7 separate regions of the Homo sapiens genome follow, and all the other regions are linked to region 1. Evidence: promoter capture Hi-C in 16 types of primary human blood cells and fetal thymus (Javierre and others, 2016). All regions are on one chromosome and are shown on one strand. Each heading gives the region's core, a stretch centred on a gene start or on the middle of the fragment in contact. The rest is flanking DNA. Distances are from core to core; before and after follow the strand shown. Region 1 holds the start of CSGALNACT1 (chondroitin sulfate N-acetylgalactosaminyltransferase 1). Region 2 overlaps LOC105379300 (a long non-coding RNA gene). Region 3 overlaps ATP6V1B2 (ATPase H+ transporting V1 subunit B2). Region 4 holds the start of SH2D4A (SH2 domain containing 4A). Region 5 overlaps SH2D4A (SH2 domain containing 4A). Region 6 holds the start of SLC18A1 (solute carrier family 18 member A1). Region 7 overlaps SH2D4A (SH2 domain containing 4A).

Evidence for each region. Contacts are between HindIII fragments. The CHiCAGO score rates a contact against its expected background, and 5 or more counts as called.
Region 2: a contact is called between a fragment that was not itself captured here and the fragment with the promoter of CSGALNACT1 in region 1, in 1 of 17 cell types (non-activated CD4 T cells). The highest score is 5.7, in non-activated CD4 T cells.
Region 3: a contact is called between a fragment that was not itself captured here and the fragment with the promoter of CSGALNACT1 in region 1, in 1 of 17 cell types (neutrophils). The highest score is 6.1, in neutrophils.
Region 4: a contact is called between the fragment with the promoter of SH2D4A here and the fragment with the promoter of CSGALNACT1 in region 1, in 2 of 17 cell types (non-activated CD4 T cells and naive CD4 T cells). The highest score is 5.5, in non-activated CD4 T cells.
Region 5: a contact is called between a fragment that was not itself captured here and the fragment with the promoter of CSGALNACT1 in region 1, in 4 of 17 cell types (non-activated CD4 T cells, naive CD4 T cells, activated CD4 T cells and 1 more). The highest score is 7.7, in non-activated CD4 T cells.
Region 6: the fragment with the promoter of SLC18A1 here is called in contact with the fragment with the promoter of CSGALNACT1 in region 1 in 1 of 17 cell types (neutrophils); the score reaches 6.8 in neutrophils.
Region 7: a contact is called between a fragment that was not itself captured here and the fragment with the promoter of CSGALNACT1 in region 1, in 14 of 17 cell types (non-activated CD4 T cells, total CD4 T cells, neutrophils and 11 more). The highest score is 16.5, in non-activated CD4 T cells.

The regions. Positions count from the first base shown.
Region 1 is chr8:19,755,826-19,758,526 of GRCh38, reverse strand. CSGALNACT1 (chondroitin sulfate N-acetylgalactosaminyltransferase 1) reads left to right here and starts at 1,250. Exons shown (of 9, transcript NM_001354483.2): 1 at 1,250-1,341. The HindIII fragment of the contact is 8,664 bases long and covers 1-2,701 here.
Region 2 is chr8:19,271,346-19,275,568 of GRCh38, reverse strand. All of the region lies in intron 4 of LOC105379300 (a long non-coding RNA gene), which reads right to left. Among named protein-coding and RNA genes, the nearest start is that of SH2D4A, 40 kb to the left of the region's middle. The HindIII fragment of the contact is 388 bases long and covers 1,910-2,297 here.
Region 3 is chr8:20,199,886-20,204,108 of GRCh38, reverse strand. All of the region lies in intron 1 of ATP6V1B2 (ATPase H+ transporting V1 subunit B2), which reads right to left. Among named protein-coding and RNA genes, the nearest start is that of ATP6V1B2, 4.6 kb to the right of the region's middle. The HindIII fragment of the contact is 3,998 bases long and covers 1-3,672 here.
Region 4 is chr8:19,312,154-19,316,376 of GRCh38, reverse strand. SH2D4A (SH2 domain containing 4A) reads right to left here and starts at 2,684. Exons shown (of 10, transcript NM_022071.4): 1 at 2,554-2,684. The HindIII fragment of the contact is 8,347 bases long and covers 1-4,223 here.
Region 5 is chr8:19,328,139-19,332,361 of GRCh38, reverse strand. All of the region lies in intron 2 of SH2D4A (SH2 domain containing 4A), which reads right to left. Among named protein-coding and RNA genes, the nearest start is that of SH2D4A, 17 kb to the right of the region's middle. The HindIII fragment of the contact is 652 bases long and covers 1,867-2,518 here.
Region 6 is chr8:20,181,025-20,185,247 of GRCh38, reverse strand. SLC18A1 (solute carrier family 18 member A1) reads left to right here and starts at 2,112. Exons shown (of 16, transcript NM_003053.4): 1 at 2,112-2,185; 2 at 4,161-4,223. The HindIII fragment of the contact is 10,670 bases long and covers 1-4,223 here.
Region 7 is chr8:19,353,966-19,358,188 of GRCh38, reverse strand. It overlaps SH2D4A (SH2 domain containing 4A), which reads right to left. Exons shown (of 10, transcript NM_022071.4): 5 at 906-986. Among named protein-coding and RNA genes, the nearest start is that of SH2D4A, 42 kb to the right of the region's middle. The HindIII fragment of the contact is 4,329 bases long and covers 1-3,851 here.

The DNA.
Region 1 (2,701 bases), core at 1-2,500:
ACGAGGGTGAAGAGTTCACTCAGGGTGTGGGGTGGGGATAGGTCCACCTGGGGAGTCCAGGTGGGAAGCAAAACTTGCTTCAGGGATGCTTCCTGCAGGTAAGCAGGAGCTTAATGGAAACCGAGCTGCTTCAAGACTGTGCCTATAGCCTCAGGACTGCCTACCCTGTGCCCACAATAAAGTCTGGTGCGCCGGAATCTCCCAGATGGAGACTCTGAGCCAGGCAGTAGAAGGAGCCATGGCCAGGTAGTAGAAAGAGCACTGCCTCAGGAGTCATAGGACTGGTTTCCAGCTCCGGTTCTGCGGTGGCTCAGCCCTGGGGCCTCTGCAAGTTGCTTAACCGCATCTGCAGGTGATGACCTCTTCCAGTCTAACTGACTCCTCCTGAGTCCCCCTCAATTACACTGAAAATTGGCGATCCTATTTCCCAACTCCCTCTCCCACAGAGATGCGCTGGAGCACTTACAGATAAAAGGCGACCTGTGGCCCTGGAGGGTGCCTGCCTGTGTGTGCTGGAGGTGGCGGTGGATCTTTTATTACCCAACACTCCACTTGCCTTTTTAGCCTTTCCTCTCCCTCTTCTCTCCTGGCCTCCCAGTGGCCGTCAGGGGTCCCTGCAGACATCGCTTACCCACAGTGGTGCGGTGTGAGAGTTACAGGGGTTCCTGACCTTCGCTGTAAGTAAAAGCTCTCTAGGGGAGGCGTTATAGCTGACCAGGGCAGCAGAGACCGCGACTAAAGCGTGAATTCCCCGAAGTGCGATTTACAAAGTTTTTGCATGGAAGTCGGCGCTCGGCGGGGAGGGCAGCCAAGGGAACAGAGCGGGTGGAGCAGGGGGATGGGGAACTCTGTCCTGCAAGAGTAAGGACCCCATGGAGATTGGACACCTCTCTCCTGCAACTCGGGCCACGCCACAGTGTCCTAGTCTCTAAACTTCTCCGGCTCTTGGTGTCCAGTCACGCGTAAACCGCCCCTGGTGTCCGAGCGCGGCCCCTTCCGAGAGTGACAGGCTTCGGCCAGGGCGCCGCTCCGACGGGCGCAGGGACGCACTGCAGAGAGGCCGTGGGTGACGCGGAGGTACGCGGCCAACCGCGACCCCAGCCCGGCCTTGGCCGCCCCCGCCGGACCTACCCTGCGGCGGGGCGCCAGGCTTGGCCGCTGTTGCGCCCGCCCGCCCGAGCCGCCGCCGCCGCCGCTGCTCCCCGCCCCCGGGGTCCCTGGAGGCTCCGCGGCTGCCGGAGCGGGAGGTGGAGCCGAGTCCGCGGCGGCCGCGCAGGAGGGAAAGTTCAGCGACGGCGGCAGCGGCCGGAGCCGGGCCGGGCAGCTAGCAGGGCGCTTCGGGTGAGTCGGGTCCCCTCCCGGGCCAGCCGGGCGCGGTGTGCCGCGCGGGGGCGTCAGTGGCGCCGGCAGATCCCCACAGCCCCGCGCGCCTAGCTCGCGCCCGCCCACCCCGCGACCTCGGGGTGGCTCGTGCAGCTGCGGAGGACGGTGCCGCGCCTGGCCTCCCTCCGCCGCTGCCCGCCGGGGGCCCAGGGCACGGGCAGGGGCCGGGGACCGGCTTGGCAGGCGGAGGGCGCGGCGCCTCCAGGTGGGCGCGCGGGGACGCGGAGGGAGCTTCCAGGGAGGGTCCGGGGCCGCTGCGCTCCCGGGGTCGGTTTGGCTTCACCAGCGTTTCTCGTGGCCTTCCGCTGTCTGATTGCTTTCTGCAAAACCCACTGAAAAGTAGCCTTTCCACGTGCCGCGCGATGACTGCGGTTATTGTATTATTGTGGCTGGGATGGAGAGGGTGGAGGGGGCGTGACGAGGGTGGCCGGTGGGCAGCGCGCTCGCCTGCCCGGGACCGGGCTAGTGGGGGATGTGGCTGAGGGTCACCGCTGCCCGAACATGCCCAGGGGACGTGCGATCGGTGGGCAGAAGCTGTTCGAGGGCATGATCTTGGGGTGGGATGGGGGCTAGAAGGGCGGGGAGGAGAGGAAAGCTGTAGGAAGCGGAGGCAAAGTTGTTTGTTTCCGTCGCACTTCCTGCACCTGCATTCCTGTCAGAGATTTTGAAGTTATCTTTTCATCGATGAGCAAAGAATGGTGAGAAAGGAAGAGATGTTAACAGCACTGTGCCTGCCAAAACAGTGAGCCTCGGGAAATACTCATAAGTGAAATACTAATAAAAAGCATGGAGTGGTTAAATTTCACAAACTCCACTTTTCTTCTGGTTTCAAAGCCTTGGTGCAGTTTTTACTTAACGTCATTAGATACGTCTAGATAATAAAGGTAATGAAGTGTTCTTTCACGGTTTTTTTTTTTAAACTGGAAATTTAAATTTAATTCTGTAGGATTTCGTCGACATTGTTCCTACAAGAAAGTCAAATTACCTTGGTGTTACTTGCAACAGTGAGCATTAATAAGCCCTGTGCAGTGCTGAAATGTTGCTAATTGGAGGGAGAAAGGTCCTTCAAACTTGGAAATAGACGCAGAAAGGCAAGATGAATTTTTATGTAAGCCTTAGGCATAAAAGGCGACTTGAACACGTTTTGTAATAGTGCATAATACACAGGGGACTAGGTGTTGGGCTGCCGGAAGATGGTCAATTCCTAGAAAGCAAGAGACGGGCCATACCCATTGTAAGATCACCGTACATATTTAATAATTCGTCTGCCTTGAGCTGCCACACCATATGTACTCCACATAATACAATATCAAAATAC
Region 2 (4,223 bases), core at 854-3,353, 480 kb after region 1:
ATATAACAAACACATTACATGGGCCAGATCTCTTTATAGACACTGCCCTCCCCTGAGCCTGCTCCAGAGCCAGTGCAGCCCTGCAGGTTGACTCACTGCGGTAAACTGTGTACCCAGGCCTGCTCTATGCAGGGGCTGCTTTGAGATAAAATACTTCTTGTGTAATTGTTTTAGTTTATAAGATTAATATTTTTCTTCTCAGGGACTGTGTCCACAATTAAGGAAAAAGGCTACCAGGTGAGTAGTGATATTTGGCAGGCCAAATATGGGATGTGGTTAGTTGCGTCATAAAAAATAAAGTACACTTTACTAACTCAATTTTGGTCTACATTTTACTTTTCTCTTATTATAACAGGAAAATTACAGAATATTTAGAAAGGAAAGAAGTTACCTACCATCCAAATCAAAAAGGCAACTTTTAAAAACATTTGCTTCTAAGCTTTTTGCCAGTTATAACAATAGAGACTTATGTTGTACTTTTTTCCTTAACATTATTTGCTGTGCAATAATTTTAATATCTGCATAATATCCCTTTTATGTTTTTCCATAACCATTCTCCATTAGTAAGCATTTAAATTCCTTCCAGTTTTTCATTATTATAAATACTGTACTGAGCATCTATGAACACATAGGTTTTTTTTTATTTTGGATTATTTCTTTAGGGCAGATTCCCAGAGGTAAATTATGGCCAATGGGCTTTGATATTTTTTAATTCTTTACACATATTTCCAACTTGCTTTCGAAGTGTTGTGCTGATTTATGAAGTCACCCCTGACGTAGCAGATAGTCTGCTTCATAGAGCCTTTTCCAGCTCTGGGATTGTGTTAAATCCGTAAATTAACTTGGAAGGAAAAAAGTATGTTACTCTATTCGGTCTTGCAATTAAATATATCTATTGTTCTATTTGTTACTGCTGCAGTTATTATTTTGATATATATGTATATGAATTATAGGTATTATACATACATACATATATATGTTAGATGCAGGCAATAAGAGGATTCCTCAGGCCTTTCTCTTCTCTTTGCTTTTAATGTTCTTCCTTACCTGCTTTTCTGTCTTCTCCCAGCCCAGCACACTCTCCAGGCCTCATCTGCCTGCACACCCACATAATATCTTAAAAATTCACAAAGGTAATAATAAAACACAAAAACTGAGTGGCAGAGATAGCAAGTGCACTGAGGCTTGAATAAAACTCTGTGCTAGAGACCAAGTCACTGGATTCACATGGGTGTCAATGAGATCAGACCCACCCTGGAAGTAGATTAATGGGGCTGCTGACCCCCTGTCCACTGGCTGATGGTGAGAATTTTGAAGCGTCCTTAATAAGGCTCTCATATAGAACCTGAAGAGTCTCGGTCCTTTGACTTTGTGTGTACGGTGTGCGTACATGCTCTTGGCGTGTGTGAGTGTGAGCTGATGAGAAGGGCGTTCCCAGCAAGATTCCTTGGCACCATTCTCTAGTTTTAGGGGCGAGTGCAGTGCAGTGTGTATTGTTTGCTGTTTGCACAGCGGCACTTCACTGCTCCAGGGCCAAATGATGACAGAGGTAAAGTCTGGGATGCTTCGACACCACTCCCACATCCCTGTGCTGTGTCCCGGCTCTCCTCTCTTGCTCCCAGCCAACGGTAAGAGGCTAAATGCCTGGGTCTGAACTGGTCCCAAGATCTGAACTGTAGAATCTCAGAGCTAGAAGACATCTCAAAAGTCACCTGGCTCAACTCTGTCTTTTTCTATACATGAGGAAAGTGAGGCCAAGATAAATAAAGTGGCTCAAGTCAGTTTAGTTTGTGGTAAAACTAGCATTAGAACCAAGGTGTCCCGGGCAAAAGGTTAACAGACAGGGCCACTGGCCCTTGATCTACCTTGCGGGAAGTGCATGGCTGTGGGTAAGTCAGTCACACAAGCTTTCTCATTTACATACTTTTTAAACCACATCGGCCTATCCAAAGGGCCACTACAAGGATTAAATTGAATAATGGATGTGAAAGAGGGCTTTTGAGACTGTGTTCCGCTCATGTTATATGTTTAATATTCACAGTCAGTAATGGACTAACGGTGGGACAGTGGATACCACCAGCTTCCCATGCAAACAATAAGAGGCCGCATTATCTGTTGAAAACGTAAAAACAATTATAAAACTGACTAAAAATTAGGTTGCTTTTGTTATTGTTGTGTTTGGCAGTTTTAAATCATGTCAGTGATAAAATAGTCTTTCCTGAAAAATTATTTTGTAGGTCGCCATTGCAAATAATTGTCATGGTTACTATTGAATTTTAATGATATGTGTGAAAGCTTCAACTTAGCACATTTTTGTTTCTTAACCTCTAATAAGCCTTGTATTCCACATGAAAGTTAATTCCAAGGTCTCTCAGCTAGAGATGCTAGATTTAACAATAAAGATAAGAGATGCCCAGTTAAATTCGAATTCCAGGTAAACTGCAAATGATTTTTAGTATAAATATGCCTCATGTTTATTTCAGACATACTTATACCAAAATAAACATTGTTGTTTGCTTGAAATTTAAATTTAACAGATGTCTTGTATTTCATCTGGCAAGTCTACTAATTATACATGGGAACACAAATACATGCTTTCATTCAGAGAACAAGTTTATCACAGCTGTGAGTGATTTGAACTCACCTGAGGCACAGTTTTTGTCTACAACCCTGGTAGTAATACACTTATTTGAATTTAAACAGTAGATTTAAAATAAAGCTAACACAGGAATTATAAGGACAAAGAAACTGAAAGTGTCCTTCAATTTTGTCCTTCTTCAAGTGGCCACCTGGAGCTTTTATATGGTTTTTTAAAAATTTAAGAGTGAAATAGAATATGAACTTCAAGGTATCATATTTTTGCTTGGTAAGAGCATGTTTTAGTTCACATGACACGTGACATATTTTACTGAATGTTATGGGTTGAATTGTGGTTCCGCAAAAAGATATATTGAAGTCCTAATCCCCAGTACCGCACAATGGGACTTCATTTGGAAAGAGGATAATTGCAAATGTAATTACCTACATTAAGATGAGCTGACACTGGAGGAGAGTGACTCCTTAATCCAATATGGCTCGTGTCCTTAAAGGAGGAGGAGAGAGACCCACAGGTAGATGAATGCCAGGTGAAGACACAGGCACACAGAGGCAAGGCCATGTGACAGCAGAGACAGAGATTGGAGCGAGGCAGCTGCAAGCCAAGGAGCACCAAGGATTACTGACCCCTACGGGAAGCTAGGGAGAGGCAAGGAAAGAGTCTCTCCTCCAGGTTTCAGAAGGTTTCTCCCAGGTAGGTTTCCCCCGCTGACACTTTGATTTGGGACGTCTAATCTCCAGAACTGTCAGAAAAACAATTGCTATTGTTTTCACCCACCCAGTTTTTGGCACTGTGCCCAGGTCCACCACCTACTAATTGCATGACTTAGCTCATGTTTCCTAATCTCCCTGAAGCACAGTTTCCTTATGTATAAAAATGGGGCTGGCCATGCCCACCTCAAACTGTTGGAATATAGTGAGATCATGCACATAAAGGGCTCAGCGCTGTGCCTGGCATAAGATAATGATATTAATGTGCAAATGATATTCACTTCTCTTCTTATGCTGCTGCTATTGTAATGGCACCTTCAGGAGTGATTTCTCTAGGAGTAGTGCCATGTAATAATGCTCCCTGGAAGACCATGTTCTCCAGATGCAGAAGGAATGACTCTCTGGGGGTTGAATTTTAGGCATGACAGAAAATTTCTACACGTGGAAGCCCCTTTGCAGAAGATGTATTTAAATCCCGGCCCCTGCAATCCCAGCACTTTGGGAGGCCGAGGCAGGTGGATCACGAGGTCAGGAGATCGACACCATCCTGGCTAACATGGTGAAACCCCGTCTGTACTAAAAATACAAAAATTAGCCAGGCGTGGTGGCGGGCGACTGTAGTCCCAGCTACTCGGGAGGCTGAGGCAGGAGAATGGCATGAACCCGGGAGGCGGAGCTTGCAGTGAGCCGAGATTGTGTCACTGCACTCCAGCCTGGGCGACAGAGGGAGACTGTCTCAAAAAAAATAAAATAAAATAAAATCCCAGGCTCTTATCAGCCACCCATGACTGGACACATAGTAGCTTCACTTCAATTTCAGCCCTCAAACTCCCAGGCTGTCCAAGAGACATTCCACACATGGATGAACAGGAATGAGCAACCTTGAATAAACATGATGTTGCAAGAGAAGGGTCACT
Region 3 (4,223 bases), core at 424-2,923, 450 kb before region 1:
GCAGAAACAGGGGAATAGTTCTCACCTCAGGGAGAAAAGTAAAAACTTTATAGAGGACGCAGCATTTAGCTAAGTAGATGAGGAAAGGGAATCCTTAATGTTACGCAGAAGTGACAAAAGTCACAAAGGAAATTGGAGAAATTGTATAGCCTGCAAGGTAAAAAGCCACAATTAAATGGTGTCATAAAAACTAGGGAAAAGAGCTTCTGAAGGACGGAGTAGGCAATGGAAAGAAAGGCCAGGGGGTCAAACAAGATAAGAAAAGGATCCTTTTAAAAAAAGTCAAACGTTACTGCCAGGTTAGAGACTGTTGTTTTCCACTGCAAAGTGCGCCCTAGGAATAAACAGCTAATTCTACCCCAGCAGGTCCTACCCAAAGCCCTCACCTATCACACCTGCATGGCAAGTGAAATGGGGATCAGGTATAAGAACACTCAGGGGAGAGTAATTCTACCAGACACCTACAAAATTCACTAAATTTCATAAGCAGAACAACTGAAAAAAAATACATGAACTAAAGTTTTGAAGAAAATTTACTATAAGGCCTAAAATAATTAACATGAAGCTGTCTAGCAACTGGGAATTTTTCACTTGCTTGATTTCTTTTGAGGTCTTATAATGAGCTTGCACAGAGATTCCTGGCACAGATGTGGACTCCCAAGCATGAGGAAACCATTTACTAACCAGTCTGTCCACTCAAGTGGCTTTGGAATTTAAAATTACAATTCCTTCAGCCTCAGGCGGGGAAGCCAGAGCCCTGGTAAAAATGCTGGGACAGAGCAGACAGCACTGTCAGGGCTTCCATCTTTCCTGCTAACAGGACGTTTAAATCCAGACATCACATATTTGCTTGAATACATCAGTAATTGTACTGCAACTGTCTCAATAGAGGCCCCCCAACTGAACTGTATTTTTTTTTCCCCACTTTAGATAAAAAGCAAGCTACTTGGATGGATGGTCATGTGAAAGGATTAATCATTCCCCTAGATTACTAGAAAGACCCCATTTGCCACATTTTCTGCCACTTTTATGAAAACCATCCCTACTGTTTTAAAATGATTGAATACTCTTAAAAAACATAATTCCAACCCTTTAAAAGATTTCTTCATTGTTCTCATTTTAAAGACTCCCAGCATTTTTTTTACAATGGCTTTCTAAAATTGCCATGTGGAAATGGAAAGTGAGCTACATTAGAAATATGTTTTCTTGAAACCAGTTTTCAGAAATGCAGAAACGTAGACCTTTCCAAAACCTTTACCAAACAGCTGGGGTGAGGGAGGGGATATGGTATTGAGATTTATGATTAACTGTTTTGAATAAAATGCAACATCAGTAAAATACACCAGGTTCTTAAAATTCTCTTTATTTTTTCAACAAGATTGTATCTCCTTTATAGGTCTGATTTCTACAACAATACTGCTTTAGAATCTCATGTTTAAAATTCAAGCTCATTCCAAACTATGAAATTTTGCCAGTCACGAGCAAAAGTATGACCAAGAAAAAGAAACACTAGTCATAGCTTTTCCTGGAAACAGTGACTCAAATTGACATCTACTACAGAAGACAAGATTCTACTTCATCAAAAGTCTCTAAATTTGGAACAACGTATCCAGCCTTTTAAAAAGTTAGTAAGTAACCTTGCAAGTTAATTGATAACACTATCATACATTTAATAAGTACTTTTCAGGAATTCTCATTTAATCTCCATAACAGACAGAGTTAGCTATCATTATTCTAAGTTTTAGAAGAGAAAAATTATTCTCAGAGAAATTATTGTGTCTTGCCCAAGGACACAAGCAACCAGCCCAAGGATCTGAATGTGTACACTCTAGCTCCAAAGCCACTTATTCTTTGACTCTACTACAGCCCAAATTCTAAAACTGAACTGGTTCATTTTTTGTGGTATGGTATCTTGTAAGAATTATGAAGCGATACCACCCAAAACAATTTCACAAGCCTGCAATTTTAGGTATGCAAAACAGGTTTTTACTTTTTAACGCACCAGGCAATAAACTTCATCCCCAATGTGGCAGTACTGACAGGTGAGGCCTCTAAGAGGGGAATGGGTCATGAGGGCTCTGCTCTTATGAATGGATGAATCCATTCATGGGTTAATGAATTATCATGTGAAGGTAACTGGTGGCTTTACAAAAGGAAGAGAGACCTGAGCTAGTGCCCCTGCATTCTCAGCCCCCTCACCATGTGATGCCCTGAACCACCCTGGGACTCTTTCAAGTCCCACCAGAAAGAAGGCTCTCACCAGATGCGGCCCCTCCACTTTGGCCTTCCCAGACTCCAGAACTTTAAGAAATAAATTCCCTTTCTTTATAAATTACCCAGTTTCAGGTTTTCTGTTAAAAGGAGCAGAAAATGGCTAAGACAGTAGGCAAGGCTGATGCACCCTAAGGAAACTAAGGCCCTGATAAGTTTGTTTTTAAATGGGGGAGCCAGGCTTCTAACTGTTTTGTTTTTCTTTAATCTTAGGATTGGTACTCTATGACCCTTATAATATTTCTGGCCTTAGTCTTCAGTACAATTAAAAAGTATGGAGATCATACAGCTTCTAGCACTTGGACTACAAGTGGGGACAAAAAGACAATTTGTATAAAACTACAGCTCTTCTCCATGGTACTAAAACTATCTGCAAAGAAAACCAAGCAGAATGATAACAAACACTACCTTTTATCTCTAGATTTATCCAGCCTTCCTCACCATTACCATTAACAGCCCAAAACAGAGATACCAGTTTAAACTATGGCTGTCAAAGACATTAAGTTGCCCTTCAAAACAGGAAAAAACCCATTTGTAAATTACCTAAATATTTCTATTTACCTACATATTGACCACTCCTCTCCAAATGAAAAAGAATTTGAGCCCGTAGGTGTGTGAATGGGGGATAATCAGAACTTCTGACAACACAGAAGATATATGCTTATATTACCTTCTTAACATATTTTACAACCAAAATGTCTTGGCTTTGATTCTGAACTATCATATGAGCCAGACAAGTATTTATGAAGTAACATCTAAAACCCAAAATCTACACGGGTTTTAAGGAGCACATATTTTATCAGATGACATCCTCTTCCTCCTGCAGGATAGGATATTGCTCAACACTAGTAACACCATTTAATGATTACGAAATACTCAGAAAAAGTTGACAGCCATTGCATAATAAGTGTCCTAGTCTTTTAGCCTCTGCCTTATTAGCAAAACAAAAACCCAGAGCAATCATCTTCCCTTGTACAAGAAGAGTAGAGATCTGCATGATGAGCAGTGAGCACCTGAAGAAGAGGTTCTAGGAAAAAAGCAAGGAGAAGATTCCTATTTTGACTTTTTGCAGGGCTGGCTCTGCTTTATGATATAAGAAACTTAAGGCCAGTTGATCTAGGGTCTCAAGAAAAATGGAGATGACCAAATTCAAAATACATAGCACCCGAAAGCTCTATGTATGTTGTTGAATCTTTTCTTTTAAGAGAAAATCAAGTTTTCATTCCTTGTGACTTCAGAAATTCAACTAAAATGCTCAAGATAATTTCCTAATTTCAAGCCTGAATATGTTTTCCATTTCTTTTAAAAGTCCTATAATCTTGAAGCTATTTTTTAAAAGGATCTAATTTGTACAGTGGAACTGTCAACATTACTCCATTTCTTCATTCAAAAAACAAAGCTTTTTGAGTTTAAATGCAAGTTACACAATTACAAGGCACATTCTATGTGTCAGGCACTGTGCTAGGCAGTGGGGACACAAAAAGGATCTCTGACTTCTAAAGGTTCAGTGTGAAGCTTTAGGCTGGGCACAGCAGCTCACACCTGTAATCCCAGCACTTTGAGAGGCCATGGCGGGCGGATCTCTTGAGCTCAGGAGTTGTAGACCAGCCTGGGCAACATGGGGAAATCCCATCTCTACCAAAAATAAAAAATAAAAATTAAAAAAAATTAGCTGGACGTAGTGGTGTCCGTCTGTAGTCCCAGATACTTGAGAGGCTGAGGTGGGAGGATCGCTTGAGCCTGAGATGTGGAGGTTGCAGTGACCTGAGCTCACACCACTGCACTCCAGCCTAGGCAACAGAGTGAGACCCTGTCTCAACACACACACACACACACACACACAATAACTATAATTACATGTCCCCTTAAATGATAACATCAATCAATTCACAAAAAATTACAATCAATTTACAAAAATTAAGAGGTTGGCTGGGCGTGGTGGCTCATGCCTG
Region 4 (4,223 bases), core at 1,435-3,934, 440 kb after region 1:
GTGCAAGGAGGTTCATGGCACCTCTGTGATGAAATTCTCACATTATTTCCATTTTTATGTTGTTTTGTTTTACTTTTTATAGCAAACGTGGATTTCTAACATTAAAATTAACTAGTTCATCTTGAAGGAAAGACACTGGCTTCCTTGTGCCTCCAAGAATACTTGGGGGACCCAGCCGACAACTATCTGTGGTCAGGCCGTTGACGATGTGGCCATTCTGCCACTGCTGAATGGTACTGGTGTAAATCACCTGTCCCCCTCACCCTCTAATTCCCAACCCCTAACCCCCGCTCCAAGGCTTTCTCAGACCCCAACTCAAGCTCAGCACAGTACACCCAAGACACCCAGAGGCACTCCAGCCTCAACTCCCAGCTCCGCCTCTAGTGAGCGGTGTGACTCTGTGCTGTCACCTCACCTCCTTGGGACTCAGTTTCCTCATCTGTGAAACGAGGACTGGTTCAGTCTGTGACTTCTAATGTGTGGGTATCTGACATAATCTACTGTGAAGCGAAGGAGCCTGGTGGAGCCAGGGTAGAAGAAATAGAAATCAGGAAATTAACTAACTAGGGCTTTCCTACTTTCACTCCCTGACAAGGAAGTAATCATTGCTGATACTGATTCAAACTCAGAGGACTTTCCCATACTATATCAAGGGCAGCAAATCTCCGGTTATTCAAGATCCAACAAAGGAATAGCTCAGCTAACACAGCCCCTTTCTTAAAAGAGAGAAATGATAAGCAACAAGCCCACACCTGCTATTTATTCTGAACACCAATTGCTAAAAGGTCAGAGAATCCGTTGTTTTCCATGATACCATAGATTTGGCCTGATTCTCACACCTTCACACTGTTCTACAATACAACTGTCTTTTGAATAACTCTGAGACCTAAACAAAATACAATTTTAAAAGGCCTTAGATACAGGCTAAATCATAAAAATAGTAGGCGGGCACAGTGGTTCTACATGTAATCCCAACACTTTGGGAGGTGGACATGGGTGGATTGCTGGAGCTCAGGAGTTCAAGACCTGCTTGGGCAACATGGCAAAACTCCGTCTCTACATAAAGTATAAAAATTAGCCAGGCGTGGTGGCCCGCACCTATAGTCCCACCTACTTGGGAGGTTGAGGTGGGGGGATCTCTTGAGTTGGAGAGTTTGAGGCTACAGTGAGCCGAGATCGCACCACTGCACCACAGCCTGGGTGACAGAAGGAGACCCTGTCTCAAAAATTAAAAACATTAGGTCGGTGCAAAAGTTATTGTGTTTTACATGGCCAAAAAAAAAGTAACTGCGGTTTTTTTTACGTAAAAACCGCAATTACTTTTGCACCGACCTAATAAAATAAAAAATAAATAAAAGTATTGTGGTATGGACAGTGTAACTATAACATTAACAATACAGTTTGAATTCTAATTCTTTTAAAACAGCCAGCTCTGTGGTCCAACTTTGTTTTCTTATTGAAACTTTATCTTATTCATCTACCAGCAAAAGGGCTGTTTTTGAGGATGAAACAAATTACCAGAGATGACAGCAGTTTGTAAATATATACTATTCTTCAGAAATTTGAGATTACTGTACACACAGATTTAGTATACATAGAGAATTCCACTCATATGCCAAATCTATGCCCCTGTATGCTTTCCACTTATTTATTCACTATTTTAAAATAATCGTACCCAAGTCGTTGTTTCTATTAAACCAGCAATCAAACGAAAGCCTTTGGAGCGATGAGGAGCATCTGTTTGAAAGGGGGAGGTGCCACGCTTGCTGCTTCTCTAAGCTCCCTGGGAAGGGAGAGACAACTCAGAAAACCTACAAACTGTAGCTCCTTCCGGTGCCCGCGTGACCCCCGAGTCCAGGAGCGGGCAGGGGCGCCGCTTGGCTGAGCGCACTGGGCACCCGGTCTGGGTCTGGGCCAGCCCCGCCGCTGCAGCCCGAGGGAGGCGGCGCTGCACTGGCCTCCGCGCGCTCCCAGACCCCACGTGGGGGCGCCCCTGGGTGCCGGTGCGCGGGGAACGTGCTGCGGGGGTGCTGCGCCAGCTGCCACCGTTTCCCGGGACTTCCCTCCTGGAAGATTTCCATGCGCAAGTCGAGGACGTGCTCCTGCTAGGAGTCTAGAAACTCTAGGCCAGCCCGGACCCTCCCGGGGCCTGCACTCCCCGCGGGTGGAAGCACGCGCCGCGTGTCCCTGCCGGATTCCAGAACTTCCCCGAAGGTCCTCAGCCCCGGCAGACCCTCTCCCTCGAAGTTCCCCCGCCACCCCCTGCAAGCCCCCAGGCCCCGGGGACCGCCGCTCACCTAGCCAGCGGCTCCAGACACCGGACACCGGACACCGGACACCGGACACCCGCCGCGGCCGCTCTCGCCGCCCAACCCCGCACCTGAGCCCGCCCCGGGCGCCGCGAAGGGGTGGAGGCGGGGGTGAGGCTTCCGCCCGCCCGCTCTGGCCCCTGCGCCTCCCATGCACCCATGCAACCTCCGAGGAAATTCCCTTCCCCCTACTCCCACCCCACGCACACTCTCCCCAAAGCCTCGCCCCACCCCCAGCACCTACCAGTGCTGGGCGCCCCTGGGCAGGGTGGCTCGATCACCCGCCACATCCACTTGGCCGCCAGAAGCCGTCGGGGAAGGGAGGGAGGGAAAGGCAGAGGCGTCCCAAGCGGCGCAGGCGGGCTGAGCAAATACTCCGGCCCGGACGCAAAACAGCTCTTGTAGCCGTCCCGCCCGCGCCGCCCCGCCGCGCCCACATGCCGGGGTGACTGGCGGGGCGCAATCGCGGCCCCACCCGGGCGCCTGGAGGCTCTCCAGGGCCACTCGTCGGCGAGGCTGCGTGGCCTGCGCATCTCGGGCCGCCTGGCCCGCGCGCTGTCCCCGAGCTGCGGTAGTCCGGGGTAGGCTTGTCCTCTCCTCTCTTAGTTCATGAGACAGGGATCTGCAGTCTGTGATCTCTTGGGGACTGCAGGACTTAGATTAAATCTGCAGATCTGGGCCTTTCCACGTTTCAGAGCTCGGGGTTCCTTGCTAGGTGTAGGGTAGGAGGGTGCGCAGGCCCCACTTGTTCACTCTGCTTGGGTGCTGCAGGCCAAGGCGACTCTGGAGCTTTTTTTTTTTTTCTTTTGTTGACATTAAGTAAATGATCAAACTCTTTGGCACTTGTCGGTACACGTGTGGCTTTGTAGGACAAGATGAAGGAAGGAAAAGGCTGGAAGGAAGGAGACCGCAGTCAACACAGACAGGTGGAGAAAATGAAAGAAAACTGGGGGAAAAGTTAAGATGCTGAAAGGAGTCTTGAGGATTGCAACAAGAACAGGTTGGCTTGGTGCCTGAAGACGTCAGGGAGGAGCTGGCAGTCCACAGTTAGAGGAAATCTTGGAGGAAAATTGAGCAGAAGCACAGTGGAAAGGCATTTCCACTGGAGGGCATTTTCCATCCTAGAGGAGCATGTGGAAGAAAACCGCCTGCTTTGGTGAACCCCAGATTTTGTGTATTGGGAGAGATGTAATAAACAGTAAACACCAGTAGTCCTCTCCACGGACTACCTGACCTCTTTAGGAGCCTGACCTGCTGGATTCAAACACAAAATGGCATTTCCCTGCCTCTCCAAACTGCAGAAGCTGTGCAGAGTTACATCAAGCCTCGGGGCAGGCGGCATTGTCAGGAAATAAGACCCAGCTATTTAGGAACAATTCCAGGAATCCCATCAGGGAGGAATTTCTGGTGTAAGGCTTAGTTCCTACTGCAGTTTAAATGATAGCATATGGGGTGCTTTAGGCTGGAGTGGGATTGGCCCCTGGAAAGCTGCTATGACGAGGTCAGAATGAATCCTAGCCCTGCATGGATGCATCAGTTGAACCATACAGGGTGGTTTATCAGTTAGGAAAAATCCCACAGGACACTGTGACAGCCTACCTTCCTCACACCCAGTCTCTCTCCAGGTCCTGGCAAGTCCTTCCTTATAACAGCTTTATCACTGTGCTACTAACCTCTGTACCTCACTTTCCTCCTCTAGATAAAGAGTGTCTGCCTCGGTAAGTTGTCAAGAGGGTTAAATGAGATGCTACATGCAAAGAGATTAGAAGAGCTCTTGGCATGTGGTGAGTGTTCAAACACATTCACTCAGATCAGTTCATATCACATTAAGGTACTGGAATTCCACATTCCTGCCATCTCACCCTAGGCTGTGGGTTCTGCCCACCATGCCACCTACCTTCCAAGTCATTCCCA
Region 5 (4,223 bases), core at 943-3,442, 430 kb after region 1:
GCCTGGCTGCATGTGCCTATTTTATAAATGAAGAAACTGAAATGGGAAGCAAGCATTCATTGTTTGCATTATCCTTTAGGGTAACAGAGCTAGCACTTCACACCATAAATTCTTACATCTAACTATCTCCCTGTAACCCAGAATTCCACAGCTGCTCAAGGGTGTGGCATTTGTACTACATTCACAGGCTTCATAGGTGGGTAAAAAGCAGGTTTTATTATTTTATTTATATTGTATTTTATTTGTATTTATTATTTTATTTTAGAAATGGTGTCTTGCTCTGTCACTCAGGCTGGAGTGCAGTGGTGAGCTCATAGTAGTTAGGAATGCAGGCATGCATTACCATGCCCAGCTAATTTTTAAAATTTTTTGTAGAGACAGGGCTTTGCTTTGTTGCCCAGGCTGGTCTCAAACTTCTGGCTTCAAGCAATCCTCTTGCCTCAGATAAGGAGGTATTTTAGATTTAGACCACCTTGAGTTCAAATCCTAGCCCTGTCACTTACGAGCTATGTGACTTGGACAACTTTCTTAAACTCTTTAGACTCAATTTCCTCATCTGCAAAATGGGAATACCAATATTTACTACCTAGGGTTGCTGTGGGCAGGCAGGCTACCTGTGCCAAGTTCTTCCCCTAGTGCCTGCCACATAACAGGAGTTCAATAGAGGTTAACTGCTATCATTGCTAGCCTATTATTTACTTATATGGCTGCCTCAGAGATTCACACCAGCCTGTGAGAAGATAATATAACCAGGTAGTATGATACTTGGTGAAGCTACTTAAATAACCCTTGTTTACAATTGGCCTCCAGGTTAGATTATATCCTAGTGCTCCTGAAATGCGGCCACATCGGTCATGCTCCCTTAAACCGGGGGCAGGTGGAGCGTACCTAGGAGAGGCCAACAGAGACCATCCCTGAGTCTGTCAGGCCTACCCAGGGCAACTGTGGGCCAAAGGTGGACCTCTAGTCAAGACCCCAAACTAGCAGTGGTGCTGACTGCATGGAAGAGGGCACCTGGCTGGTGTGTGTGCTGGGCCCTGTTTGATGAGCAAAACATCCACACTGGGATTGTGTCTTGTCCTCTCACACTAAGTCAAAGGAGGTTTCCAATTAAGGTGTCTTCTGTCCAACGTATTCTTGACTTTTGTACTGTGGCCTTGGGATACATTACCAAAGCAGGCTGCTCAAAGCCAGGCTCGTGCTTTCTTTTGACCCTTTCTACCCTTCTTGGTACAGTGGACACTCCTGCAGTATGTTCTAAACAGAGACGCTGGGCAGAGGGAACAGACTCAGACTCTGCACTACCAAAGAATTCCCATTTACTGTTTTCACTGTGGAGAAACAGCAAATGTGGCCTCCAGGTAAGGAGGGGAAGGTCAATCCCACCATGCCCAAATGGGGCTGGGCACCAGTGCCAGCTCCTGGCAAGCTCTTTGTCTGTTTGACATAATGCCAGATGGTTTGTTAACTTTAGAAAGCTGTCATACCTCATAAAACTCCCTTTATTACACTCTCTCAGGCCAACTAATAATATTTTTTTTATGTCAGCCTCTCAGCCTTCACCTAAGTAGTTCTCTGTCGGTATTTTTTTTTTGACAGCAAGAGGAAGATGCCCAGAAAGATGGCAAGTGGCACTGTGCCAGGGGAAGAAAAAGGAAGAGCAGAGGGATTCCAGCACCTCAGCTAGGACAGCCCAGAACAGCTCCAGAACAGCCTCCAGGGGCTACGGGCAGGGCAGGAACTCTTAGGGAAAAGGGGCATTGCTGCAGGTGGGGAGAGAAATCCTAGGACTGCATGTGAGCAGTTGGGGCTTCAAAGCTAAACACAGAGAAGAGAGCAAAGGAGAGGAGCAGAGTCAAGAAAGCTTTAAAGGAGGTAACAGAGAGAACACAGTGACCATAAAGAAGCAGTGGCTCTTGGCAAGAAGAAAGAGAATGAGATGGGAAATGTCAGAGTTAGTGAGATGCTGAAAAACGGGCTCTTGACAGAGTGGCACTGACAATGGTCTCTCTGCTGACTTTTCACCTCTAAGAGCTCTTCAATGAGCTCAGAGAGTGGGGATACTGGAGGAGCTTCAAGTGGTTCCATGAACTCCCTGAAGCTGTAGGAGGAGGGGGAAGTTGTTCTAGTATAATGAGTGTTAGCTGGGATACCCTCGGCTTCACATCAGATGAGGGGATGACTCTCAAGGCCTTCGTAGTAGTTCATTCTACAAGGCAGAAAATGAGTTTTTGCTATTAGCAAGATGTAGAGCTAGATGCTGCAGGTGATACAGGAATGAAAGGGATGAAAGAGATGTGCCCATTCCCCTGCAAGTAACCTAGAGTCTACAAGAGAAGGAGCAAGACATTAGGTGATGCATTTAATGAATTTTCATCACATATCTAATACGTGTCAGGCACTGAGGTAGACACAGTGTATTAGTCCATTTTCAAGTTGCTGATAAAGACATACCCAAGACTGGGCAATTTGCAAAAGAAAGAGTTTAATTACTTAAAGTTTCATGACTAGGGAAGCTTCACAATCATGGCAGAAGGCAAGGAGGAGCTACTTGCACCTGTAACGTCTTACATGGATGGCAGCAGGCAAAGGGAGAGTAAGAAAGATGCAAAAGTGGAAACCCCTGATAAAACCTTCAGATCTCAGAAGACTTATTCACTACCATGAGAACAGTATGGGGGAAACTGCCCCCATGATTCAATTGCCTCCCACCAGGTCCCTCCCACAACATGTGGGAATTATGGGAGTACAATTCAAGATGAGATTTGGGTGGGGATACAGATCCAAACCATATCACACAAGTAAACACTTAGGACAAGATGGTCTAGTCCCTGTCCTCAGGAAACTAACATTCTAGTAGTCCCTGTCCTCAGGAGACTAACATTCTAGTAGTCCCTGTCCTCAGGAGACTAACATTCTAGTTGTGGAAAGCAGACATGGATACTTAATTAATTCTAAAATTATTAGAACTTCAAAAGCTGGTGGGGGTGGTGTTAAAGGATGCTATGGGAATGCTTAAAAAAAAGAACTAAGTCCCTGGAGGGCCAGGGCAGCATACATTATAACCACAGTGGATTTTCTACTAAGTCCAGTGAGGATTCAGGGGATGGAGAGATTGCTCTGTAAAGACAGAAGAGAAATACGACAAGTTCTTTGTACTGAGTATGGGAGGATGGATATGGAATTTAGACAGAGAGTGAGGGTGTGTTTGACGCTGGATGCAAAGAACAACATGACCAAAGAACAGAGAAGGGAATCAGCAGGCAGCCATGGGCAATAGGAAATGAGGGTCTCCACCAGGGCCGAGAGGGGCACCAGAAGTCACCTGCACGTGTGTGGCATAGGCTGACCATCACACAGGGGAGCAGAGAGCCATGTGGCACAGGGTCCCACACACCTGGCTAAGGGACTGAAATTTAGGACCTGTACTGCAGCTGAGCCAGAAAGCTAGAGCAAAATCCCAGTTTTACCCCTGACAAGTTATGAGACCATGCATACATCAATTTATGTCTCCAAGCCTGAGTTCCTTCTATAGTAAACAGAGGTAAGAAAGTCCTACCTCACAGGCCTGCTAGGTGACAAATGCTCACAGTGTATTATTTTCACATTCTTTATCTGAGTGGCCAATGAAGAATGCACGAATATTTCTGAGCAGATGGTGCAAGGATTGGATCAGAAAGTGATTGAGGAAGCTCTGCTCCGCATGTCAGTATATACAGGATGGACCAGGGTGGCATGTGGTGGGTATTCAGTCAGCATTTGGGGAGAGAATGGGGAGAGACTAGGGGTCAAAAGACCAGGAGTGAGGCAGTCAGGTCCTAAATAGGGCAGGCATAGGAAATGACAGTATTCAAGAATTTAGGAAGGTTCAGGCCACTGGATTTAAGGAAGGACTCAAAGATGATGCCAGAATCCTGAAACTCGCTAACTGGGAACACAGCAGCGGACAGGCAGAAGTAGTGACAAGAAAATTCATTTGCTTAAGGAGTAAAAAAAAAAACAAGCTGTTTTGGAAGCGTAGACTACGTTATTTTTACTTTTACTAGAAATCCATATGAGGACTTTCAATCGACATCTGGAATCCAGAATTGGAGTCCAGAAGTGAGGCCGAGATTAGCCATGTAGACTTGGGAATGACTCTATAGGTGGCGTTATTGAAGCCACTGGTACAGATGAGCTCATAGAGAGAATGAAGCCAAGAAGAGAACCTTGGAAAAGCAGGT
Region 6 (4,223 bases), core at 863-3,362, 430 kb before region 1:
ATTAGAAACATGCCCAAATAGTACGTAATCCATAAATGATAGCTACTGTTATTGTTGCTGTTATTCTTATTATTGCCCAACATGTGATGATTCTTAGTCTATACCTGCTTTCCCAGGCCCTCAATTTCCCAAAATCATGATTTCCCAATTTTTGGGGGGCATCCCCAGTTAGGTGCTGTCTCGGAACATTCCTGTGAGGCTGCTCTACCCAAGCCCTCTCCCTCTAGCGCCCTCTATTGGACACAGGTACACTATGCCGGAGGCTGTCAACCCTCAGAGTTCTAACACTGTACTTAGGGTGGAGGGCATGGTGGCAGAATTGTCACCTGGACTCCAAAAAGGATACTGCCTTATGCCCAGAGTCTTGCAAATATCTTTATTAATACAGTTCCTCCATCTTTTGGCCCTAACCCCCTCATTCCCTAGAGGCTCAGGCCACAGGCCCTGCATGTAAGTGGGGGGCAGTGTGCCATGCTCCCTGTAGGGAGTGGACAGTGGCACCCCAGAGATGTCCACCTCCTAATCCTGGAACCTGTGAGTATGTTGCCTTGGTAGTCCCCTATGGTAAAAGGGACTTTGCAGATATGATTAAGGATCTTGAGATGGGGAGGTGATCTTGGAATATCTGGGTGGGCCCAGGGTCATCCCGTGAGTCCTTACAAGTGAAAGAGGGAGGCAGAAGGCTCAGAGTCAGAGGGAGAGTTGAATATGCATTGCTGCTAGCTTTGAGGGTAAAAGTGGCTAGGAGCCAAGAAATGCAGGAGATCTCTGGAAGCTGGAAAAGGCAAGGAAACAACCATCCCCCAGAATCTCCAGAAGGAATGCAGCCCTGCCGACACATTCATTTTAACCCGGTGTGATGTATTTTGGACTTCTGACCTCCAGAACTGCAAGATACTAAATACGTGTTGTTTTAAGCCACCAGATTGTAGTAATTTGTTACAGCAGCAAACTATAGCGATGAATACATTCTGCTGATGTCTTTGTTTCCTATCCCTATTTCTCGCTCTAGGTTTACATTTTAAAACTGTTTCCATCTAGGCCGCGCGCTGTGGCTCGCGTCTGTAATTCCAGCACTTTGAGAGGCCAAGGCAGGAGGATCACTTGAGGTCAGGACTTCGAGACCAGCCTGGCCAACATGGTGAAACCCTGTCTCTACTGAAAATACAAAAATTAGCTGAGCATGGTGGCATGCACCTGTAATCCCAGCTACTCAGGAGGTTGAGATTAGAGGATTGCTTGAACCCAGGTGGTGGAGGTTGCAGTGAGCCAAGATCATGCCACTGCACTCTAGCCTGGGTGACATAGCGAGACTCTGTCTCAAAAATAAAAAAAATAAAATTAAAAAACTATTTTCTTTTTTTTTAGCGTTAAATCGAAAGTTCCCTAGTTAATTCCCACAATTAGGAGGGGCCCACCAGTTCCACAAATAGGAAATCTCTGCACTGCTCTTGCTCGTAAAGTGTATTTGCTTTTTCATAAATTGCTTATGTTCTTTGAGCCACCAATGGTTTAATGTCAGAATAATATAGATCATTAGAGCCTCTCAAGATCCCACAAGGAACTGCACTTTCTCCTGTAGTTAACCATCCAGTCATCCATGCAAGAAATATTTATTGGATGCTACCATGTATCAGGCACTGAGCCAGTATTGAGATGTGAAGACACAGTGCATAATCTAAGCCTTTACAGAGGCCACAGATGTTGGGTTTTTATGGCTTGAGAACAACATACATTGTTTCTTTCCAGGAAGCTAATTGGGGTACATGGAGCCACTTTGACTAAGTAGCAAGGAACAGGAACTGCACACTGGTTCCATCTTGGCTTCCAATTTGTATTCAGACCCAGGCAAGAGTTAAAGAGTTCGATGATAGATAAGCACAGATGCAAAACAGTACAGTCCAGTGCCTCTTTGCTTAGGCTAATATCTGCCCTCTCTTTATCCTCTCCAGCCCTGCCTTCCTGCCTTTGACGCAGGGAGCTAAGGGTCTGAATGAACCCTGTTGGAGGTTGCAATTAAATCTTTGTGGACAAAGGCACACACACACACACATACACAGAATCCTCAGATAACAGGAGGCAATAAATCCAACAGCACATCCACGTTCAGAGAACAGTGTCCCTGCTGTCTTGCTAACAGCTGCCAATACCTCACTGAGTGCCTCACACCAACATGGGCTCCAAGGTAAGATTTTTCTCTCTCCGGACAAATTTAATCTTTCCTTGTGATTTGTGTCTCTGTCAGAGGATTTTGACTGTTAAGTAAAGTTTACTATTGATTTGTTGGCAAATTCCTGGTTTTGTTTGTTTTTGTTTTGGGATTTGGGTGTGTGTGTTTCTCTCTCTTTGTAGTACTTACTTCACTCACTATGTTTTTTAATTTTCCATGGCTTGTCTTTTATTCTTATCCATACATATCCTAAGTCAATTTGTATTCAGAAATACCTCCTTTATATAGAGAAATGAAGGATCTTAAGTAATTGCATGCATTTACTGGTTAAAACTTAACTGAGAATTTGGTTCACTTAGGACCTTGGTCACGTTAATATGTAGTAGTGAGAGGGTTCTTCCAGCCCTGGGCTTAGAACAGAGTACCTCAGTGTTTGGGGTACTCCCAACACCTGAGGCTGACTATTGAATTTCAGTGATAATCATTTAAAATTATTTACTTCTTTAATTACAAAAGTAGCTCATTATTGAATATTTAGAAATACACAGAAGATAACTGAAGTCATTGATTATAAATAACTGGCATTTGAGTATCTCTCTACTCTCTCAAAAATGTGCCCATATATTTATATTTAGACAATTGAGATAAAGTTGAAAACACAGTTTAATTTCCCTTTTTTACTTAACGTTATAGTAATAGTATTTTCTGTATCATTAAAATTATTTGAAAATATAATTTTTAAGAGCCGCTTAATAATCCACCATTAACATGTTTGACTTTTTTCACTAAGAAAAATAATTCTGCAATTGATCATTTTGAGTATAAGTCTTTGGCTGCATCTCTGACCTTTTTTCTTTTGTAGGATGGGTTCCTTGTAGTAGAGTTACTAAGTCAAAGAGTATACAATTTTTAGGGCCTGATAGATTTCATGATGGTAATCTATTTTAAAATTTAAATGAGTGATATTGTTGATACCACAACAGAAGCCACGTCAAAGAAAATGAAATTCTCCCCAGAAACTCTTATTACTTGAAGTTTGACAAGGTACTGTGACTTAATGCTGACTAATGATATGAAATCCTGAATAGAGAACTAATCATGAAAGTCAATATTTTATTTTCACAGATGAAGGCATCTTTCTGATCAGGGGTTTGTAGCTCAAACAAAAGAATGAGCGTGCTTCTAGAACCACAGAGCAAGGGAACATGGTAGAGGATAAGCTGGCAAGTTGAAAAGCGTGGGATTTCATCCCAGTTTGACACTAACTGTGCAACCCCAAACAAATCTCCTAACCTTCAGAGGCTCGGATTTCTTGTCTATGAGATGAAGGTTGGTCTACATCAGTGTTTCTCAGTGGGCAGCCCAAGTGACACTGTGCCACATGAAATATTTTGGGGTAGCACCTAGAACAAAGGTCATACTTTTTTTGCATGCCACATAAAATAACTTTTTGAAACATGATATCAATATCTATGTTGGTTTTAAAAATTTTTTGAGAGTTAGGGGTCTTGCTATGTAGTCCAGGCTGGACTCAAACTCCTGGGCTCAAGATATCCTCCCACCTCAGCCTCCCAAGTAACTGAGACTCCAGGCACATCCCACCATACCTGGCAGTATCTCAATATTTTAAAAGAGTGGATCTAGAGGAAAAAGATGAAGTAAATGATAGTACAGGTAGTCCTTAGATATGACATAAACCATCAAGGTGATAGGCAAATAAATGTCGGATGTTTGAAAAACACAGGGTTAAGTGATCTGTAGAGCATCTATTTTTATCTGGATTTATACCTAGCCATTAAATTCAAGGGAAATTAATGGCTAGATATAAATCCAGACATAAATAGCTAGTAAGCGATGCTTACCAGGAAGGCATTCTGGGAACCAGGTAGAGTTATTGAGATTTATAAGAAGTGAACAGTGATACAGACATGGAGATGTTTCCAAATATCATCCTACTACTTGCAACCCTTTGCACTTTTCGTTTTAATAGTGAGTTTCCTTCGTCTGGGCAGACTCCCTCCCCTCTTCCATAAAGGCTGCAGGAGACCTGTAG
Region 7 (4,223 bases), core at 438-2,937, 400 kb after region 1:
CCATTTAAAATGACATAGTGAGATCTAAGCAGAATTAATGAAAATGTCCTTTAGATCCCCTATTGCTGCTGTTTTAGAAAGAAGTATGTATTGTATCAGCAGTATGCACACAGGACTACAGTTCCACAACTTCATCCTGATTTCTTGAAGTCTTAAAAATGCAAGTTCATGCATGTCCCTTCAGAGGAATCATGGAATTCATGGCATGGTCCACAGGAACACAGGTCCCTGGCCTGACCTCCACCACAGCCCGATCTCAGGAACCTTCTCTTCACAGGCTCACATCTTACGCTGCTGTTTCAGACTCTCGGTAGGTCAAATCCTACTACAGCTTCCAAGTACCAGTCTATGCCTCATTTATTTTGAGCAATTTATGACATGATAGCAAGCTCACACGACGGAGGAAGCAGGGCTTGGCCTGGAGGGAGAATGTCACATCTAGATGGACGTGAGAGAGGGCTGAGTGCCAGAAGGGGTTCCAGGCATGGTGGATGTGGAGGACACAGCAGCTGCTCACCCTCAAGGGACAGGTTCAGAAACAAAGAGCACAGAAGTAACTCGATCTGAATTCACTCTTTCTGCCAAGTGTAATGCTCCATTTATCACTGTCTGAAATCAGTCTTCCCTCCATGTCTGCAGCAGCCTGGGATGCCGCCTCTATGTTAGATCTTCTGGGAGGAGTTTAGCTAATACAACTTGGCATCTGTTCTTTCCATGACATTCAACACTTCCCGAACTCCAGATAAACGGGTAAAGATGCAGAACTGTGTTTGCAGCTTTTAGGACAGATTTCCCATCCTGCTGCTTAATTTCATTTCTGCATGAGATTAATTAACTAATCTGTGAAACATTAGTGGAAATGCCTAGGTATGCAGCCCCCGGAGGACAGAAGGGAAGTCTTTTACCTGGTGAAATGCATATGCCTTCATACGATTGATTGAATCTGCCAACATTTGTTGAATATTTCTTGAAGAACTGGAGAGTGACTAAAAATTAAACGAAACACATTTATGGCATTTGGAGCTGCAGTGCAGTTTCATAAGATAATCTGTCAATGTTTCCCTGGTTTCCCTAATGCTGCCCCCGCCCCTACAGATGGATCCACCCAAGGCTCCCACTGGCACCTGAGTTCCTGGGCCGATCCTGACTACAGCAACGGGCATGTGAATCCTCAGTATCCCCACTCAGTAGGGCTTAGAAAGGAATTGTTGCCCAAGAGCGAGGAGCTGGTGGTTTGGTATATTTTGCTCCCATTTAGTTGGCCCTGGAGGGCCCTGGGGATAACTTCCAGCCATCAACATTACCCCCTATTTAAATTCTCTTCTTGCTTAATCTCTGCATACCCTGTTTTAGTGCAGGCCAAAGAAATGCCTTAGTCTCTGGATTTAACTATATGATGCCTTGCAGACATGCCTGGAGCACAAGTTTGGTGCGTGGGAGCCCTGCCCAGTTTCCCTGCCTGGCCCACAATTCTCCTCTTTTCCTGCCCTTGTCACCCAGTATCTATGTTTCTCCTGCTCTAGATGGATTTCCCATGAGGCAACCTCCCCACTGGGGTTCCCAGATTCATTGCCTAAAGTCCCTGGTGTCATTCCTGCCTGCCGCAGGCCAACCCTCTGGCATCACAAGTATGCCAGCAAATCACAATGGGTGCTTCTTAAGACACAGGCCCCCATCAGTCCCTGGCTGGAGTGCAGAGCCTAAGCTAAGTCCCAACATGGGTAGTCAAATGTCCTGAGTACCCAGATATACCTACCCACAACCCACATTACCGCAAAGTATATGCCTTGTGTCTGAGTTCTTAATTTTGGCATACATCGGAAATTGTCACTAAAATTTCAGCAAAAGGTTGGTGCCACCATTCAGAAGGAGTACAGAGGATCATTACTGCACCATGCAATAAACCAGTGGCTTTCTCAATCTTCCCCTTTTCTCAAAGTGGCTGGCATGTGGCTACCCCACTATACCGCATTTCCCAAATGCCTCAGCGGTTGTCTTAACATAATGCAGTTGACAACAGGCATTTGCCATTTCTCCCCAGGCCCACTTGAAACCTCCTTCACACACTCCTGCAGGCCACTTCCACCTTCCTTTGGGCTGGAATGGTGACAGCAGCAGTGCTACTACCAAAGATAGCAGATACTTAGACTACAAAAGCCTGAGTCCCTGAATGACTGTGTGGAGCAGAGCCCTCCTGAACTAGAACACCTATTCTGGACTGTCTGAAGACAAATAAATAACTTTTATTGTATTTTTGGCCATGGCATTTGGGGACTATTTCCTTCAAAAGTTTAGCCTATCAACTGATAAAACTGGTCACAACAGTTGCTGGAGGCATGTTTCAAGCTCTCTGCTGAGGTTTTATAATTAATCATAGGTGGTGAGATTAATGCTAATTCCGCTAATGAGCACTAATGCATACTGAAGACGTATTATGACCCGGCACCATGTTAGTGTCTTAGTATTATTTTTACTCCACACAACATCTGTGATGGATGGGCAACATAATGGGCAATTTTCAGATGAGGAAACCAAGTCTCAGGTGAGTTGTGGAGCTTGCTCAGCACCAGACAGCTGGTTTGTGCCAGAGTTTATGCTTTTTCCACTATGTTGACATTGTAGTGATAAGAAAATGAGATGCGGGTCAACAGATATCTAATGCTTATTCCTTGGCAAACTAATGAATCCTGTAGGTTTCACAATTGCTATTTACCATATTCTCATTGTTTTCTTATTTTAATATTATAAAAGTATACTTTGCTGCTCTGCGTCTAAACTTAGAACAGTAACCAGTTCCTCTATTTGGGAACAGAGTGAACTGTTCCCACAAGTTTCATGTAAGCGCGTCTGCTCAAAAGTCCAAGATGACTTTTAAAATCTCTGAGTGCATTTCCACCACCAGGAAGGAGAGCTTTAAAAACAGGCCCACTCTCTCTTTCTTTGATGATATAAGATCTTTGGGGCACCGTTTTGCAAAAAGGATGTTTCTTATATTTGAAAATTAGGAGGCAGGTAACCCTTCTTTCTTAATACTCCCGCAAGTATTGCAGAGAATGTTTCAAATATGCTATGTTTATTACTTGGCAAACTAATGAATCCTGTAGGTTTCACAATTGCTACTTATCATACTTTCATTTTTTTCTCATTTTAATATTATAAAAGGATACTTCGCTGCTCTACATCTAAAATAGAACAGACGCAGAGCAGCTGTTGCAGAATCAGACAGATCTGGACTTATGAAACTGGAGTTCTGGACCAAGGTTTTGTCCGCAGCACATTTGCTGTCCTTAGTCTTTGAGCTTTAAAACACACTCTTAGTTGCTTCCTGAATTAGCATTAAGCTAATAGGCATCTGATGGTTATCTTCTAATCCATGTATTCAAAAGTGTTGTCTATTTTGTCAGTTTCCCCTCAATATCCCGCCAATTACTGTCATCTGTATGGGTACAGTGCTTTGAACACAATGCGTGAGTTATCCTCCATCCCTCAGTTATTCCTTAAACTGAACAGTTCATCTCATGTACACATGAACCAGGTATTTTTACTACTTGCTTTCTTTAAATTATCTTACATTTTTTCCTATCATCATTGTATACCTTTTCTTACTAGTACTTTCAGCATGCTCACTGCCTTTGCATGTGTCAGATCTGACGCGGTTATGAATTATGTTAAAATAATATGAAGCACAGACACGTACTCCAGACAGTGTGCATGGAAGTGATGTCACTGGGCACTAAAGTGACAGTGGTTGCTGCCAACACCATCCACTCATGGTAGTTGGAGATGATTGATGATTTTCCTTTTCTTTGAAATTTTAGGTTTTGTCTTTAGTATACCAAAACTCACAAGCTTGTTCTTGAGTAGAATTTTAGCATAAAAACTCATTAGGCCCATGCGTGGTGGCTCATGCCTGTAATCCCAGCACTTTGAGAGGCCAAGTTGGGTGGATCACCTGAGGTCAGGAGTTCGAGACCCGTCTGGCCCACATGGTGAAACCCCATCTCTACTAAAAATACAAAAATTAGCTGGCATGGTGGTGCATGGTGGCACATGCCTGTTAATCCCAGTTATTCGGGAGGCTGAGACAGGAGAATCACTTGGACCTGGGAGGCAGAGGTTACAGTGAGCTAAGATTGTGCCACTGAACTCTAGCCTGGTGACCGTGAGACTCCGTGTCAAAAAAAAAAAAAAAAAAATTAGTTGAAAAACCACTCGAGAGATGA